2 separate regions of the Homo sapiens genome follow, and region 2 is linked to region 1. The links are contacts of gene promoters, found by promoter capture Hi-C in human tissues and cell types (Jung and others, 2019). All regions are on one chromosome and are shown on one strand. Each heading gives the region's core, a stretch centred on a gene start or on the middle of the fragment in contact. The rest is flanking DNA. Distances are from core to core; before and after follow the strand shown. Region 1 holds the start of EVX1 (even-skipped homeobox 1). Region 2 has its middle 79 kb from the start of EVX1-AS.

Region 1 (7,768 bases), core at 3,230-5,729:
GCTATCTGAGTCAAGACCACTAGTCATTCTACAACTGTAGGAAAAAATGCACTGTGGACTCTTGAGGCCTTTTAAAGGACTGTTAAATTAAATGAGATTGTTAGATTAAATGAGAAATGGGTGTTGATGTTCTTTGTAATAAAAGCAAACTTCAGGACAATAATGAAGAAGAAGAATCCATAGCATCTCTGCTAGGGTTGAGGAGGGAGATGTCTGAGCCTTTGGGTGCTTGGGTGTTGGAGAATTGCTCTTGGACACAAACTGCACTGGGCCCTTCCAGTCAGTGGCTGAGGTGGCAGCAAACCTTGAGCTTGGGGAGGTCTTCAGCTGCCAGTCTCACCCTGGGTCCTCCAGCCCTAGGATGGGCCAGTGGTGGGAATGGGGATGTGGACCAGACATCCTTAGCACAGGGCCAGGAAGCTACCAGGCTGGCCTTAAGGAGCCCAGGCAGACAGGTGTACAGGCAGGAGTGCAGCAGGGTCAGCTGCCTCCCAGGACCTGGCCCTCCATTCCAGGAGGGTGGAGAGGAGGGGGCACTCTTCAAAATCAGAGTTCCAGAAGCCGCAGTTTCCCCCTGTCTGAAGGAGAAAGTGTTCCACGGTGCCTGCCACAGTTACACAGCTGCCACCGACTTTCTCAGCAGATTCCACTGCAGTGCAAGGAGGTGACAGGAGTGGTCAACCCTCATCTACCTGCAAGTGTGAGATCCACTCGACCTTATTCCCCAGGGGTGCACCCAGCAGTGGCACTAGGTTCCCAAAAGGGCATCAGCAGCTGCCAAGGCAGAAGGGGGAAGCGGGTCCCAGAACCACCCACCTCCGGCTGTCCCCACCGCGAGGACCCAGCAGTCTGGCGCCCCCACCACGGCCTGGAAGATGACGGAGGGCCCAAGACTAATATTCACGACAGCCAGACCACGCTTATTGTTTAGAAGGAAGCTCCCTTTGTTCTTACTTTTTAACCAAAGAGAAGCGAAAACATTTTTTTCCTGATCACATTTTCACCGACACCTGAGCCGACAAGCCAGCTCCTGGCCCCCGGCTCAGGACTCCTCGCTCTCTCCCTTCTCGGGGCCCTGTCGCCGTTGAAAGGCCCGCTGCAGGCTGGGGAGGGTGATCGGGGCCGCGGGCCATCTCCCCCGAGCCGGGCGGGCAGACTGCGGAGGCAGGCCCCACACGCGCCGCTTTTCCGAGCCCGGTTTTCTTCAGGAGCGAAGCTGTTCCAGCTGACCCGCGCGTCTGGGGGCCTATGCCCGGCTTCCGATTCCATTTAAAACGACCCGCGCATCTTATCTCCGTCGCCTCCCCGGGGTTCCCACCCACCCCCCTCCGGCCCGGGCCAGGCCAGCCCAGCCCCGGCGGAAGCCAAGCTGGGAGCTTTTGAAGTCCGGAGAATTTCAATCCGAGAGGAGCCGGCTGGACCGGAGCCCGTCGCCCCAGCGGGGGAAGGGACGGGGGGCCTGCCGTGTGGCAGGTGGGGGATGGGTGTCCCCCGCCGCGAGAAATGAGAAGCCGCCGGGCCTGGAGCGGCCTCCACCTCAGCTGCTATCACCCCCTCTCCGCTGTCATGGGATTGCCCAGGCTTAATGGGGTTGTGCAGGGCTTCACTTGCTCTCGGAATTTACCTTCCTTCTCGAGCCGTGCCGCGAATAACCTTCACGACACAGTGATAACGATGTTATTAAATACTCCCCCCACATTCACCGCCCAAAAAACCAAAACAGTGTTCTTATCCAGTCCTCTCTTTTTTTGTCTTCTTTCCTTTAAAAACCCAACCGCTCTTAATGTGAGGTTGATGAAAGGATGCTTTTGGAAGAAGTGACATTTGGTTAAAACGTTTTCCCCCTAATGCGCCGGTGGAAAGGGGCGGGGGTGGGTGTGGTTCCCTAGGCTCCTAAGACTGGCCAGTCAGCTTTGAAAGAGCGGGGCAGAAGTCGGGAGAGGGCTGGGGAAGGCTTTGGGCTGAGGGGATGTGTCCCTGAAGCTTCAGATCTGGAGCCCAAGGGAGGCAACCTCCCTCTGAAAAGCCGGTCCTCAGCTCCATCCAGCCCTCTCCGCGGGATGTAAGCCCTGCTCCGTAGGGCCCGACCCAGGAAGCAGACTAAGTGGCACTCCTTGATCTCTCACTCCTACTCGGCTTTCATCTCACCCAGAAGAAAAGCGGATCAAACAGAGGATTCCCATTGAATGCAGAGCTGGGGGCGGGGTGGGGAGCCAGGAGTCCCTCTGAGGACCCAGCCCCCAGGAGATGGGGGCAGCAGGCTACTCACGAGAAGGTTAAGCGCTCAAGGAGGAAAGGAGGGTGGGCACCTCAAAGGCCCAGTGCTGGAGGGCCCTATAGAGAGTAGGCAACCTTGGAAGCTCTAAGACAGATGCCCAGGGGGCTTGCCATTGACAGGAAAGAGAGCAAGCCAGGTGCTCCCTCAGGCTGTGGCTGCTGGTAGGGAGGACAGAGAAAGATAGAATACCTGGACAGCTCTCCAAGGCAGGAAAAGGTTCTAGGATTTGACTCCCCTCACTCCCAATTGATCCTCTCACCTCTAAAACATTTCCCTGGATTTTGGGGCTAGCAGTGCTCAGCATATAGTGGCTTCAGGAGTCCCAAGGAGTAGAAATATCTATGTGGACACTACCTTCCGGATCCCGCTGCCTCCGCCCCCAGGCAAGATTAATGAACATCGTCTTAGACTGAAAGAGAAGTGGAAAGCCGGAGTGAAGAGGAAACTTTGTCTTTCTTTGGACCCCTTACTTCCTCTACCTTCCTTAACCCTATGGATAGGAAGATGGAGGAGAGAAGCAAAGAAGGAGAAGAATACAGAAAGAGAAAAAGGAGGAGAGAAAAGTAGGAGATAACAGATAAAAAGGTCACGGAAGAGGACTTACCTGTAAAAGCTGGGGCTTTGCTAGGGACACAGAAAGGAGGGAGGTGCTGGGCTGCCCTTTGCAGCTGGCTGCCTAGGGCTAGAAGCTCTTCGGGAGGAGGCGGAGAAAGGGGGGTTGAGCATAGAAGGTGCCCACCTCCTGCTCTCAGCAATGTGGGGATAGACTCAGCCCACCCACCTGGCCCCAGCACACTTGCTTGGAGCTCAAAAAGGGTCAGTTTGAAGGAGTTTTATACCAGCTTCTTCCCTGGGAGAGGAGCCAAGAGAGGCCTATGGCAGCTTCCAGATATTAAGTTCCACAACCCCTGCCCCCACCTCCAGCCCTTCATCAGAGTCCCTACTTACTTGCTGTTTTAGGGCATTTTCAGCGACTTCACTCTCTTCTACCTCAAACGCCATCCACTTTTGGAGACAGGTACCACTGCCCCTAGGCAGGGACTTGGGAGAGGACCTTATGAGTCAAACCTCTATGAACCCCAACCTTTTTGTACTCGGGGAGGCTGAACCCCTGCCCAAAATAGCGCGGTGAAAGCTACTGCCTTCTCCCAAGTAGGGGCCTCCAGTACTGCCACAGCAGGGGCCGCATTCCTGGCGCCTCTTCATTCGAAAAACCTCTTTCCAGGAGACTTCGCTGATTCTGAACGAATACTTTAAAATATGGGCAAGGGAAAAAAAAAGACAACTCTTAGAAACTCTCCCCACCCAACATACCTGGAGTGCAGGCGAGGTCCAGGCAAACGGGAAAGCGACTTCTTGTACGAATAGCCATCTCAAGATGAAGCCAGGCTGTGGAAAACTTAAGGCCATCTAGATGGGAAGGAGGTATTTAAAAGAAATCAGCACACACTCTTACAGAAGCCAAGGCGGGTCTTTAAATTAAAAAATAATAATAAGGTATTTATTTCTTGCCCCTTAGGGAAGAAAAATAGCAAAGTTTGGTTCGCAGGAGTAAGGAGACAGAGGTGGGTAGGGAGAGGGAGGAGAAAAGAGGAAAAGATGGCCCAGCCTCAAGCTCTCCAGTCAACTTGGGGCGGGGGAATACATTTTTCCGTAGCTTGTAAAAAGACTTTTCAGCCAGTTTGAGGTTAGCTGCCAGGGGCAGACAGTTGTAATAATGCCGACAGAATTGAGGCTTGTAAGCCGGGCTTCACACTTCTAAAATGCAGTTATGGATTCTTTCATCGGTGTTAGATCAAGGCACCAAGTTAAGAAAACAAAAGTCAAAACAACAATAAAAGAAAAAATCAAAAGCTTATTTAATTACCGAGTCCCGCTGCCCCTGCGGAACTCGCCGCGCGCGTTAAGCTCTCTTTTCTTTCTGCGGAATTCCATTTGCATCCCCTCTGCCTGGGTGTCTCCCTCTCTCAGTGTGTGTGTCTCTCTGTCTGTTTTCACACTCTCCTCCCCAATCGAGCGAGGCCCACACCTGGCGCATCACTGCCGAGCCATTAGCTGCGGGTTTCCTTTCATCTTCGCTGTGGCAGACGTTTCTATTTATCCACTTGCGCTCGCCGAGTGGCGTCACCAGCGGTACTGTAATGACGATTGCAGCAGGAGGATGACAGCTTAGAAAGAAGAGGGCAATGGGGCTTCCTCCCAGAGGCGGTGCGGCACAGAGGAGCGCTCGCTTCACAAGGTGACCCTAGCTCCCACCGCCACCGCCGCGGTCGCGGTCCAGACCGCGCTCCAGCAGCTCCGCGCCCTCCCAGGCACCCGGCCTTTCTTTCTCCCTCTTGCAACCAAGATCCGTCCGGCCGCTGGAGACCCAGGGAGCCGGGGTTAGGAACTCACTTGGGGCTTTCCCCTCCCCCACCGGAGAGCCCCGGGATGGAGAGCCGAAAGGACATGGTTGTGTTTCTGGATGGGGGTCAGCTTGGCACTCTGGTTGGCAAGAGAGTCTCAAATTTGTCCGAAGCCGTGGGCAGCCCGCTGCCGGAGCCGCCCGAGAAAATGGTGCCCCGTGGTTGCCTGAGCCCTCGGGCCGTCCCTCCGGCCACCCGGGAGCGCGGCGGGGGAGGCCCGGAGGAGGAGCCGGTAGATGGACTCGCAGGCAGCGCGGCGGGGCCGGGCGCCGAGCCCCAGGTAGCTGGGGCGGCCATGCTCGGCCCAGGACCCCCGGCCCCCTCAGTCGACAGCCTCTCCGGACAGGGGCAACCCAGTAGCTCGGACACCGAGTCGGATTTCTATGAAGAAATCGAGGTGAGCTGCACCCCGGACTGCGCCACCGGGAACGCCGAGTACCAGCACAGCAAAGGTAGCCACCGTGCCCCTCCGCTCCCCGGGCCTCCCACTGCGCCCACCCTTCACTTCGGCGCAGGCCAGGAGGAAGACACTCCCTTCCCCTAGGGCAGGATGGCTGGGGGGACCCACCTGAGCAACTCTCTCTGCTATCTGCGTTCTGGCGGGGGTCTCCTACTGTGTTCTGGCATTGGCGGGACTGAGGGTGACAGCAGTGCCTTGAGTGCGGGGTGCTGAGGGGGCGGATGCAAGTCCTGGACTTGGGGGATTCGAAGCTCACCCCAAGCACCCAGTGTTTCAACTGCTCGGGGAATGCTTCAATTGCTCGGGGAAGACACTTTCCCCAGGCGAGGGCAAGATCAAACGCCGATCCGGGCAGTTTGTGGCTGGCAGGGTGTAAGAGGCATGGAGGCGCGGAAGCCAGGAGTCCATAAAGGACCGTAAAATTGCGGCCCACTTGGGCAGCCCGGGTGCTGCAGCCCTCCGACCAGTTTGCACGTCGGTCAGAGGTCCAAATTACCTTGTCACTTCCCGGGCTTCGCGGCGCCAGGTCGGAAATGGTCCCAATGGTCTAATTGCCTTTGGTCTCCGGTTGCATTTGAAAAGGCAGAGATCGGGTCCTCCCCCCTTCCCCTTTCCTTCCTAGTCCCACTTCTCCACCCAAAGGAAAAGGAGCTGCAGGGGGCTGGAGCCCCACCCTTCTCAGAGGTAGGCCCAAAGGGGGGCTGGTTTAACTGGAGAACCCCTCCCCACCAAAGGCTAATGGGAAAGGGGTGGATAGCCCGGAAGGGAGTTTCCCTCTGTGCCAACAATCACCTCCCCAGAAGGGGGTAGAAAACTGGGCGCGGGTTGGTGGGGGGGAGGAGAGGGGAGCCCACCAGCAGACACTCCTCCACAGAACTGTAGGAGTGGGTGGAAAGAGCCTGGGGGCGGGGGGGAGAAAGACCACCCCCTGGTCTTGGCAGCCAACGCCTTGTTGAATACCTGCACCTACCCCTTACTATCTTATCACCGATTTCACCCAGCCTCCTTCCCATAACCCTCAGAACAACCTGGACTCCACTCACATATACTAAGGTAATAAATAAGATACTCAACATGCATTCTCACTCCAGCCCTGCAATACACGGAACCTAGTACACATTCCCACACCTGTTCTGGCAGCCCGTCACACATAAGAGCAAGGAAACTCTCTGAATGCCCAGCATACTACAATGCACTTGACCCAGAGTTTACAACCCTCTAGCACAAAGGTGCATCTCAACTCATGTGCCTGTCAGAAGTGCACGCCCTGCCAACGGGAGGCAGAAATCTCACCTATGCTCCAGGGCAGGTGGGAAGGGCGGCTGGGAACCCCTGTACCCAGGATGCCTTAGAGGAAGGGAAGGCCTCCCCAAAGACCTCTACCTACCCAATCAAGGGCAGGCCCTTATTTTCCCTTCTTGGGTTCCCCAGAGGCCGCAGTACCCTAGCAGAAACAGTTACTGAGGTGGCTGACAGGGTGTCCCTTCCCAAATCACCCTCCCACCTTAGGCCTACAGCCCCACTTCAATGGCGTTTGTGTGTCTGTGTCTGTACACGCCTGTGCTCTGGACTCGCTGTGCAGGGTCCGGCTCCGAGGCGCTGGTCGGCAGTCCGAACGGAGGGAGCGAGACCCCCAAGAGCAACGGCGGCAGTGGTGGGGGCGGCTCGCAAGGCACCCTGGCGTGCAGCGCCAGTGACCAGATGCGTCGTTACCGCACCGCCTTCACCCGAGAGCAGATTGCGCGGCTGGAGAAGGAATTCTACCGGGAGAACTACGTATCCAGGCCGCGGAGATGTGAGCTGGCGGCCGCCCTAAACCTGCCGGAAACCACCATCAAGGTATGCGGGGTCCAGGCTGGGGAGGCGGGTGTGCACCTATTTAGCGGGAAGTAAATGCCAACTGCCAACTCCCTGAAACGCAGGCCAGGAATCTGGGCCTGGGGTCTCCCTGCCCGGCGCGTGCAGATTGACCCTCGTGACAGCTCCTAGGCAGGCATTGCTGCCATGTGGCTGACTCTGTCCCTTTCCTGGTTAAATAGACAAGGGGTGGGCGTGGGGGAAGGGGATAGAGTGCCTGTGCGGGTGACAAGGAAGTTTCTGGGGACACGCTCTCTGCGGCCGCAGACCAATTGAGTCCATGTCCTTTCACTGCTCCTCCCATACACACACTGGCCTCTGGCACCCCGGGGGCCTGGCCACCTGGGCAGAAGGAAGGAGGGAGCGGGCTGGAGTCACTCCCCAAACCTCTCTCGGAGGGATTCCAGCTCCAGGTGGTGGTGGTGGGGTCGGTCTCTACCCGGCTGGTGTCTGCTTTGGCTGTTCCTGCCCTGCGAACACTGTCCCCGGAGCGGGACCAGACTACTGGCCTCTGAGCATCGGGCCAAGTCCAGCTACTGAACCTGCTCCGCTCCTCTCCCCAGGTGTGGTTCCAGAACCGGCGCATGAAGGACAAGCGGCAGCGCCTGGCCATGACGTGGCCGCACCCGGCGGACCCCGCCTTCTACACTTACATGATGAGCCATGCGGCGGCCGCGGGCGGCCTGCCCTACCCCTTCCCATCGCACCTGCCCCTGCCCTACTACTCGCCGGTGGGCCTGGGCGCCGCATCCGCCGCCTCCGCCGCCG
Region 2 (7,768 bases), core at 1,409-3,908, 82 kb after region 1:
GCAGAATGTCTGAAGGGGAAGCTCTGACTTGGAACAACCACTCATAGAAAAGACTTCTCTGACGACATGACATTTGTTTGTAAATAAATGGCAGAGGAGTGCTCCAGTTGTGGTGCATTTTCTTGCTTAGAAGGAGTGCTAGGGAAGATAGTCCATGCTCTGGAATCAAACTGCCTGTCCTCAAATCCCGGCTTTGTGACTCAACTAAACCTCCGTTTCTTAATCTGTTAAAAGAGAATAGTTGCATCTACTTTTAGGGTAGTTAAAAATTAAATAAGATAATTCACGTAAAGTGTTTAACACAATGCTTGGTACATATAGATCCTCAACAAAGTGAGTTCATTGTGACAATATGCTTAAAATACACTTCTCTAGGTTTCCTTTAATTTGGTCTGTATGGCAGCTCTTTGGGATAATAAGATCAAGTAAATGCAATGTCCCTCAGGCGCAAAGATAGAATGTGACCCACTATCAATTGGACACGTGCTTAGAATTATTTAACTAGTAGTGATTGTAAGAGCCTTGAGTCAGAAACTGTTGAAATGAGTCTTGAGATAGAGCTCTCTCTATTTAATTACTATCTATTACAGTCAGTCTTCCCTGTCCATGGGTTCTGTGGCCAAGGATTTAACCAACCACAGAGAAAAAAATATTTGAAAAAAAAAAAAAACAATAAAAAATAGCAATACAACAATAAAAAATAATACAAATAAAAACCCAATACAGTATAATAATTATTTACACAGCATTTACATTGTATTAGGTATTATAAGTAATTAGAGATGATTTAAAGTATAAGAGAGGATGTGCGTAGGTTAAAGGCAAATACTATGCCATTTTATATCAGGGACTTGAGCATCCATGGATTTTGGTATGTGGGGGAGTTGGGTCTTGGAACTAATACCATGTGGATACCCAGGGACAACTGTACATTCGCTCTTTCTTTTTTACATTATCCCCTTTCATTCCTCTTTCCTCCTCACCTCTTTTTAGCCACAATCTCATAGCTGCACAGCAACTCGGATTCAAGAAATAGTTACTGAGAGTCAGGCCCTGTCCATACAGATGAATTAGGAGGCTTTCTGTGCTCAAGGCCTCAGTCTGGTTCTCACCTTCGTTTCCAGCATTTTCACCAATATTCAGCCTCTCAGGAACTCTTTTCTGAATGGTTGAAAGGACTTCCTAACTGACCTTTCACCTCTCTCCCCACTTCTTTCTTCCACCTTTCGAATCTCTCTGCTACATCAATCTCCCTGAAATTCAGCTCTCACCACCTATTTCTGCAAACCCCCTCTCGCCACATCGCGCCACATTACCTACCAAATAAAGCCAACAGTTTTCTTTCTGGTGTGTGGGGTCCTCCACAATATGGCGTCACCTTTCCTTCTCTCCTTCCTCCTGTTCCCCATGGCCCTGACCATCATCTGTCCTTCTCCAGCAGGCTCTGCATTCCCTATCCAGCTTTTGATCCATTTGCAATCCCCTCCTCACATGGGCCAAAACCCTGCCCATTCTATAAGGCCAGGAATAAATGCCGCTTTATAATTTGTCCCTGTTTCCCAAAGCCTGTAAAGGCTCTTCCTCCCCTCAGCCTCTACAGTGCATTGTAACTCTGTTTCAGCTTTATAGGACTCTGCCTTGTTTCATAGCTATTTAGGTAAGGCAGGAAGAACTTTCTGCCTGTGAAAAGGAGACACTGAAATGTACTTTCAAGGAAGGAGGGAAGAATTTAGCTTTCTCTGCAAGTTTTGAAGAAAGAGATCCATCTTTGAGGGAAATTTTATATGAGGTCTTGTCTGGAGGTCAGTCAATGAACTGATGGCCGCCAAAGGGTCTGGGTAATTAAAATTCTAGTAAATTTCTTGAGACGGTTTTAATTCCTTGAGACAGCACATGCATGTAGATCCGTAGGGAGAACACTAGAACAGGTTCTATTGAAGGAAACTAAGAACTATCATGGAGCTGTTTTCACTTTGCCAAAGGAAAGAGTAGCCAGGCCTCCTAGAGACTGGGCTGTTTTGGGGTTCTCCATACCTTGTTGGGACTAGGTAAGTTATTTTTCCTTCTTCTACGGTGATTTAGATCTTGGGATCCCTGTCCAATTCATTTCCTGGTTATTTGCAGAAATCTTGAGTATGTGGGTCCCTATCAGGAAACAGTGTGAAAGAGGGGAGATATTGGATTGCCAGCACTCTTCACATGTATTATGTGTTTAACTCCCATATCCACACATAAGGCAGAAATCATTTCCTCCATTTTTTAAAATGCCAAAATATTAGAAGTTTAGTGACTGGTTGAGGATTACTGAATAAGTGTTGAAATGGGTATTGAAACTGAGGTCATACTCTTCCTAATTCCATTCAAACCTCCCCCCACCCCTTTGTTGTCATCAGTTCTCCTTTTGGACTTTCTCTCCCATATGGCCCTAGAACTAACCTGTTGGCCCAACTTCCACCAATTTCTCACTGCCATATAAATCTGAGGCCTGTCCTTCACCTTCTCCCAGAATCAAAGGAGATTTGTGTGTGTGTGTGTCCCATTCTTTCTGGGCTATGTTATTAGCCAATCCAGAGATGATTACGAGCTAAACTATCAGTGATCTGTTATGACTCAAAGTCTATTATCCACCCGTGATTGTGGCTTTATTCATTTCTCCTTTAGTTCTATTCATTTTGCTTTATATATTTTAAAGTTTATGTGAGTAGGCATATACAAATTTAGGATTGTAAGGTCTTTCTGATGAACTAACTCTGTTATCATTATAAAATGTTTCTCTTTATCTCTGATAATATTTCTTGTCTTGAAGTCTATTTTGTCTAATAATAAAGCCACACCAGCTTTCTTATTATTAGAATTTGCATAACGATGTTTTTCCATCCTTTTACTTTCAGTATCTCTAAGGCCTTATGTTTGAAGTGTGTTTCCTGAAAACAGCATACAGTTGACATTGAGTTGTTTTTGTTTAAAAATCAAATCTAGGCCGGGCTTGGTGGCTTAGGCCTATAATCCCAGTACTTTGGGAGGCCAAGGCGGGTGGATCATTTGAGGTCAGGAGTTCGAGACCAGCCTGGCCAACATGGTGAAACCCCATCTCTACTAAAAATACAAAAATTAGCTGGGTGTGGTGGTGCACACCTGTAATCCCAGCTACTTGGGAGGCTAAGGCAGGAGAATTGCTTGAATGGGGACGTGGAGGTTGCAGTGACCCGAGATCACGGCATTGCACTCCAGCCTGGGTAACAAGAGTGAAACTCCATCTCAAGAAAAAAAAAAAGATCAATTCTGATAATATCTTTTAAATGGAGTGTTTAGTTCATTAACCTTTTATATTGTATAAAATTTAAGGTATACAACATGATGTTTTGATATATATAGCCATTCATTAACATTTAATGTAATTATTGATAAAGCTGGACTTATGTTTCCCATCTTGCTCTTTTAGGTCTTTTTGGTTTTAGGTTTTTCTTTTCTTTTCTTTTCTTTTCTTTTTAAAGAATTGCATTTGAATAGGAAACTCCTGGATACCATGCATCTAACCCTATTTGGTAATATTTTAGACAATCATAATGGATGAAGTAAAAGGGTCCTTCTGACATCTGCTATCTGTTGCCAAGTAAGCATTTGAACTTTTTGCTTATAAGTAAAGGAATGCCCTAATTATTTAACACTTAGGTCATTTTCAGTTTTTACTTCCAGAAATGGTACCTTAAAGATCATCTTCACACATAGCCTTTTCCTCCAGTTTTGGTCTGATATAATAGGATTGAGTTCCAGAAGGAGGATCTTTGGGTCAAAAATATTTAACATTTATTAAGTTACTGTATTGTTTTTCAAATGGGTGGTACCAATTTACCATGCAATCAGCGATGTATGAGAGTACATATTTTGCCACATCTTTACCAGTATTGAATGTTCCCAGTTAATTCAAATTTATTGTATTTATAAATCTAATTATACTATAATTTCTGGGATTATATTTAGTATATCTTAAAATTTTGATGTGCTATGAGAACCTCCAGAGCAGTAGGAAAAAATATAAAATATCCTATTTATTATGCTGAGAATTCTAAGAAGGTTTTTATCTAGGCAGAGTGAAAAATTGTGGAGTAGATCTAGGGAGACTGAAAAATTCCCTGGTTGGTTCCTGAAGAACACCATCACTACTTAAAAGACCTCTCTATCCTCTCTCCATCAAAATCTCATGCCAAATCTGCATTCTACTTCATTCTAAGGTATTATCTCAAAAGGAATTTGCAAGATGCAAATTTTCATGTACCTAAGGGATAGCTATATGCTTAGAATAGTGACTGGCCCCTCATGACATCAGTGGAAAATGAAAATCTTTGCTAATTAGGTGCCTTTGTAGTAAGAAAACATAATGATTTCTATTATGCAAATAAGTATGAGCATTTCTTTCATTATAAACTGCAATTCTTCTTTGTTATGTGAGAGCAAGGACTAATTTTATTTTCAGATCAATAGTTGGTATGCCGAGTTAATAGATGTGCAATGTTAATACAGTATAAAATAGCAAATTAGGCTACTTGGGTTTGAGAGCTTTTTTTTTTTTTTGAGACGGAGTCTCACTCTGTCGTCCAGCTGGAGTGCAAAATGGCACCATTTCGGCTCACTGCAACCTCTGCCTCTCAGGTTCAAGCAGTAGCCTCCCAAGTAGCTGGGATTATAGACATGCGCCACCACACTGGGCTAATTTTGTACTTTTAGTAGAGACAGGGTTTTGCCATTTTGGCCAGGCTGGTCTCGAACTCCTGACCTCAGGTGATCCACCCACCTCAGCCTCCCAAAATGCTGGGATTACAGGCATGAGCCACTGTGCCTGGCCTGGGAGCATCTTTTTAATCAGACCACATGACTATGGCTAGGTTGCATGAATCACTGCTGCTCTGGAGTTTTCTGGATTGCAGAGCTCTTCCTGATTGAAGCAGGCCTCCTGAAAAATCACAGTGGGACTTTGAATAAATACTTCCATCTCTTAGGCCTGTCTCATAAAATTGGGGGGGTTCTGAAATATGTTTTCTCAAGGGTTGAAGTGCATATTTATTTTTTTGTTGGGTGGGCTGAGCCAATAATGATTGCAATCAATAAGAAAGTCCTTCATCAGTAGAGTTTTATGATAGCAGCTTTAAAAGTCTCCAGATATGAGATGAACTCAGTTAAGTTTTATTGGTAATTTACCAGATATACTTCATGAAATTTACTCAGAGAATTTCATAATTCATTTTCACCTGCAACCATTGAAAGCCTCCAAATATACCAGGAGGCCCAAACTCATTTCTACCCTGGCCAATATCTGCAGATCTAGCCCACACAGCTGGCTTCCAACTGCCTGTACCTCAGCTCTCACAAAGACATTGTTTTTTTGGTTTTGTTTTGTTTTTTTGAGATGGAGTCCCGCTCTCTTGCCCAGGTTGGAGTGCAGTGGCACGATCTCAGCTCACTGCAACCCCTGCCTCCTGGGTTCAAGCAATTTTCCTGCCTCAGCCTCCTGAGTAGCTGGGATTATAGATGTACGCTACCACATCCAGCTAATTTTTGTATTTTTAGTAAAGACAGCATTTCACCATGTCAGCCAGGCTGGTCTCGAACTCCCAACCTCAAGTGATCCGCCTGTCTCGGCCTCCCCAAGTGCTGGGATTACAGGCATGAGCCACCGCGCCCAGCTGATCAATACATTTTTTCTTTTGTACTCCAAAGCAATGTATACTCATTGTTGAAAACTTGTAGTTTAAAAATAAGCAAAAGAAAGAAAATAAAAATCATTCAATAAATGTTTTTCTACTAACTTATCTATATTTTAAAATTTTCAACATTGAATAGATATTATTTTTATAATAAGAAAAAAGTTATATTTAATTTTTAAAAATTTCAGAAAGATATACTTCAAAATGTTCATAGTCTTTTTAAGCTTCTTTTTCCCTTAATTTTTGTATACTGTATTACTTTTGTAATTGAGAAAAATAGTTTCACAACAAATATTATTAAAAATTAATTCCACCACTCAGAAATAAGTATTGCCAATATTTTGGTGTATATGTTTCAAGTCTTCTTTCCTATGTCTAGCTAGAGTTTTATTTTATTTATTTAAAAAAGACATGTATTCAGTGTTACGATCAGACTATTACATTTAACAATCCACAGCATGGGCACATTAAAAACTTTTGTTAGAATGCTTTATACTTTCCACAGAACAGAAAGGAACAGAACAGAACAGAACAGAACAGAACAGAACAGAACAGAACAGAACAGAACAGAACAGAACCTAAAATAACCTGCCACAAATACAGTCCTTGAGCTTTTTGTGCATACACGTGAGCATTGTCTAAAACATATTTTCTTTGTAGCAGCTGGGCACTGCCACCACTGTGCTTGGCTGAGTTCACAAATCTGTTGTAACTGGTAGCTTCTCTATCACCTCTTTGGCTCTCCTCTCCTGCCAAGCTTTGTTGCTGGCAGTAATTAAAATCTGCCATTGACAGTGACTGCTGTTACTGGAAGCACCATACCTACCTTGGTTTCATGATTTGGCAAAGTATTGGCCTCCACCACCATAGGAACCAAAGCTTCTGCCTCCAGAGTTTTTTCCCTTCACGGGTCCAAATCTGGAGATTGATTGTTGTAATTGCCAAAATCATTGTAGCTTCCACCACCTCCAAAATTGCTCCTATCATTACCAAATCCCTTACGGCCATCTCCACTGCCACCATATCCACCACCAGCACAGCTGCTACCAAAGCCACCATAACCACTAATGTTTCCTCCATGACCACAGTTGTCATTACCACCAAAACCATCTCCATGACCAACACCAAAGTTTCCAGAATGACTTCAACCCCTTTGGCTGGATGAGGCATCAGCCATCTCTTGCTCCAACAGGGCTTTCCTAACTTCACAGTGTGGCCACTCCCAGGATGGTATTTCAGAACGACAATCTTATCCATGGTTGTCAAAGGTTACAAAAGCAAAGCCCCTTTTCTTTCCACTGCCTTGGTCAGCCATGATTTCAATATTTCAATTTTCCCATACTGTCCAACATAATCTCTTAGGTGATGTTCTTCAGTGTCTTCTTTAACGCCACCAACAAAGATCTTTTTCACAATTAAGTGGGCACCTGGTCTTTGAGAACTGTTTCTTGAGACAGCTGTCTTCGGTTCCACAGCTCTTCCATCCTCCTTGCGTGGCCTTGCATTCACGGCCCCATCCACTTCCTCCACAGTGGCATATGGGACAACCCACAGCCCCTGGAGTGCTTGGTGTTTGGGTCTCTCATTAGCACACAGACTCTGAGTGTTCCCAATTGCTCAGAATGGCTCCTCACACTCTCATCAGTTGTTCCAAAATTCTACCCCCACATGAAGAACTTCTGCAGCTGTTCAAGCTCTTTAAAAGACTCTGACTTAGACAGGACAGCAGTGGGAAGACTTTAGCCATGCTTCCTTGGCTCTTCTGTCACTTAGGAGAGCCCTTGGTTGTCAATATTTTGTTCAAGTCCTGAATTTGCATGTCACATAAATCCCAAATACTATTCTCATTCATTTGAGAAGGTTGGTGCTGTTAAGAATGCAGTAGAAGGGATTTATATCCTGGATGGAAGTTTGCACAAAATAGTTTTTTAAAACTCAAACTATGTAGGTTTCCTACAAGTCTTTTTTTCATTTAGCATGGGGACCAGCTGGAATCAGAAGCAGTAAATATAGCTGATCATAGAATACATTAAATACAGAAAAAAGATGCAGCTACCTGGTGTGCA

Evidence for each region. The method cuts DNA at HindIII sites, captures the fragments that hold promoters and counts their contacts. A contact is called where the count stands out against the background at its distance.
Region 2: a fragment that was not itself captured here is called in contact with the fragment with the promoter of EVX1 in region 1 in 3 of the 25 tissues and cell types used here (bladder, mesendoderm cells and thymus).

The regions. Positions count from the first base shown.
Region 1 is chr7:27,238,323-27,246,090 of GRCh38, forward strand. It overlaps EVX1 (even-skipped homeobox 1), which reads left to right and starts at 4,480. Exons shown (of 3, transcript NM_001989.5): 1 at 4,480-5,135; 2 at 6,726-6,982; 3 at 7,564-7,768. The coding sequence starts at 4,709. It overlaps EVX1-AS (EVX1 antisense RNA), which reads right to left. Exons shown (of 4, transcript NR_120507.1): 2 at 3,593-3,688; 3 at 3,227-3,319; 4 at 3,107-3,128. RefSeq lists enhancers at 4,098-4,975, 6,897-7,505, 7,506-7,768. The HindIII fragment of the contact is 9,702 bases long and covers 3,058-7,768 here.
Region 2 is chr7:27,322,111-27,329,878 of GRCh38, forward strand. No RefSeq gene overlaps it. Among named protein-coding and RNA genes, the nearest start is that of EVX1-AS, 79 kb to the left of the region's middle. The HindIII fragment of the contact is 7,067 bases long and covers 1-6,192 here.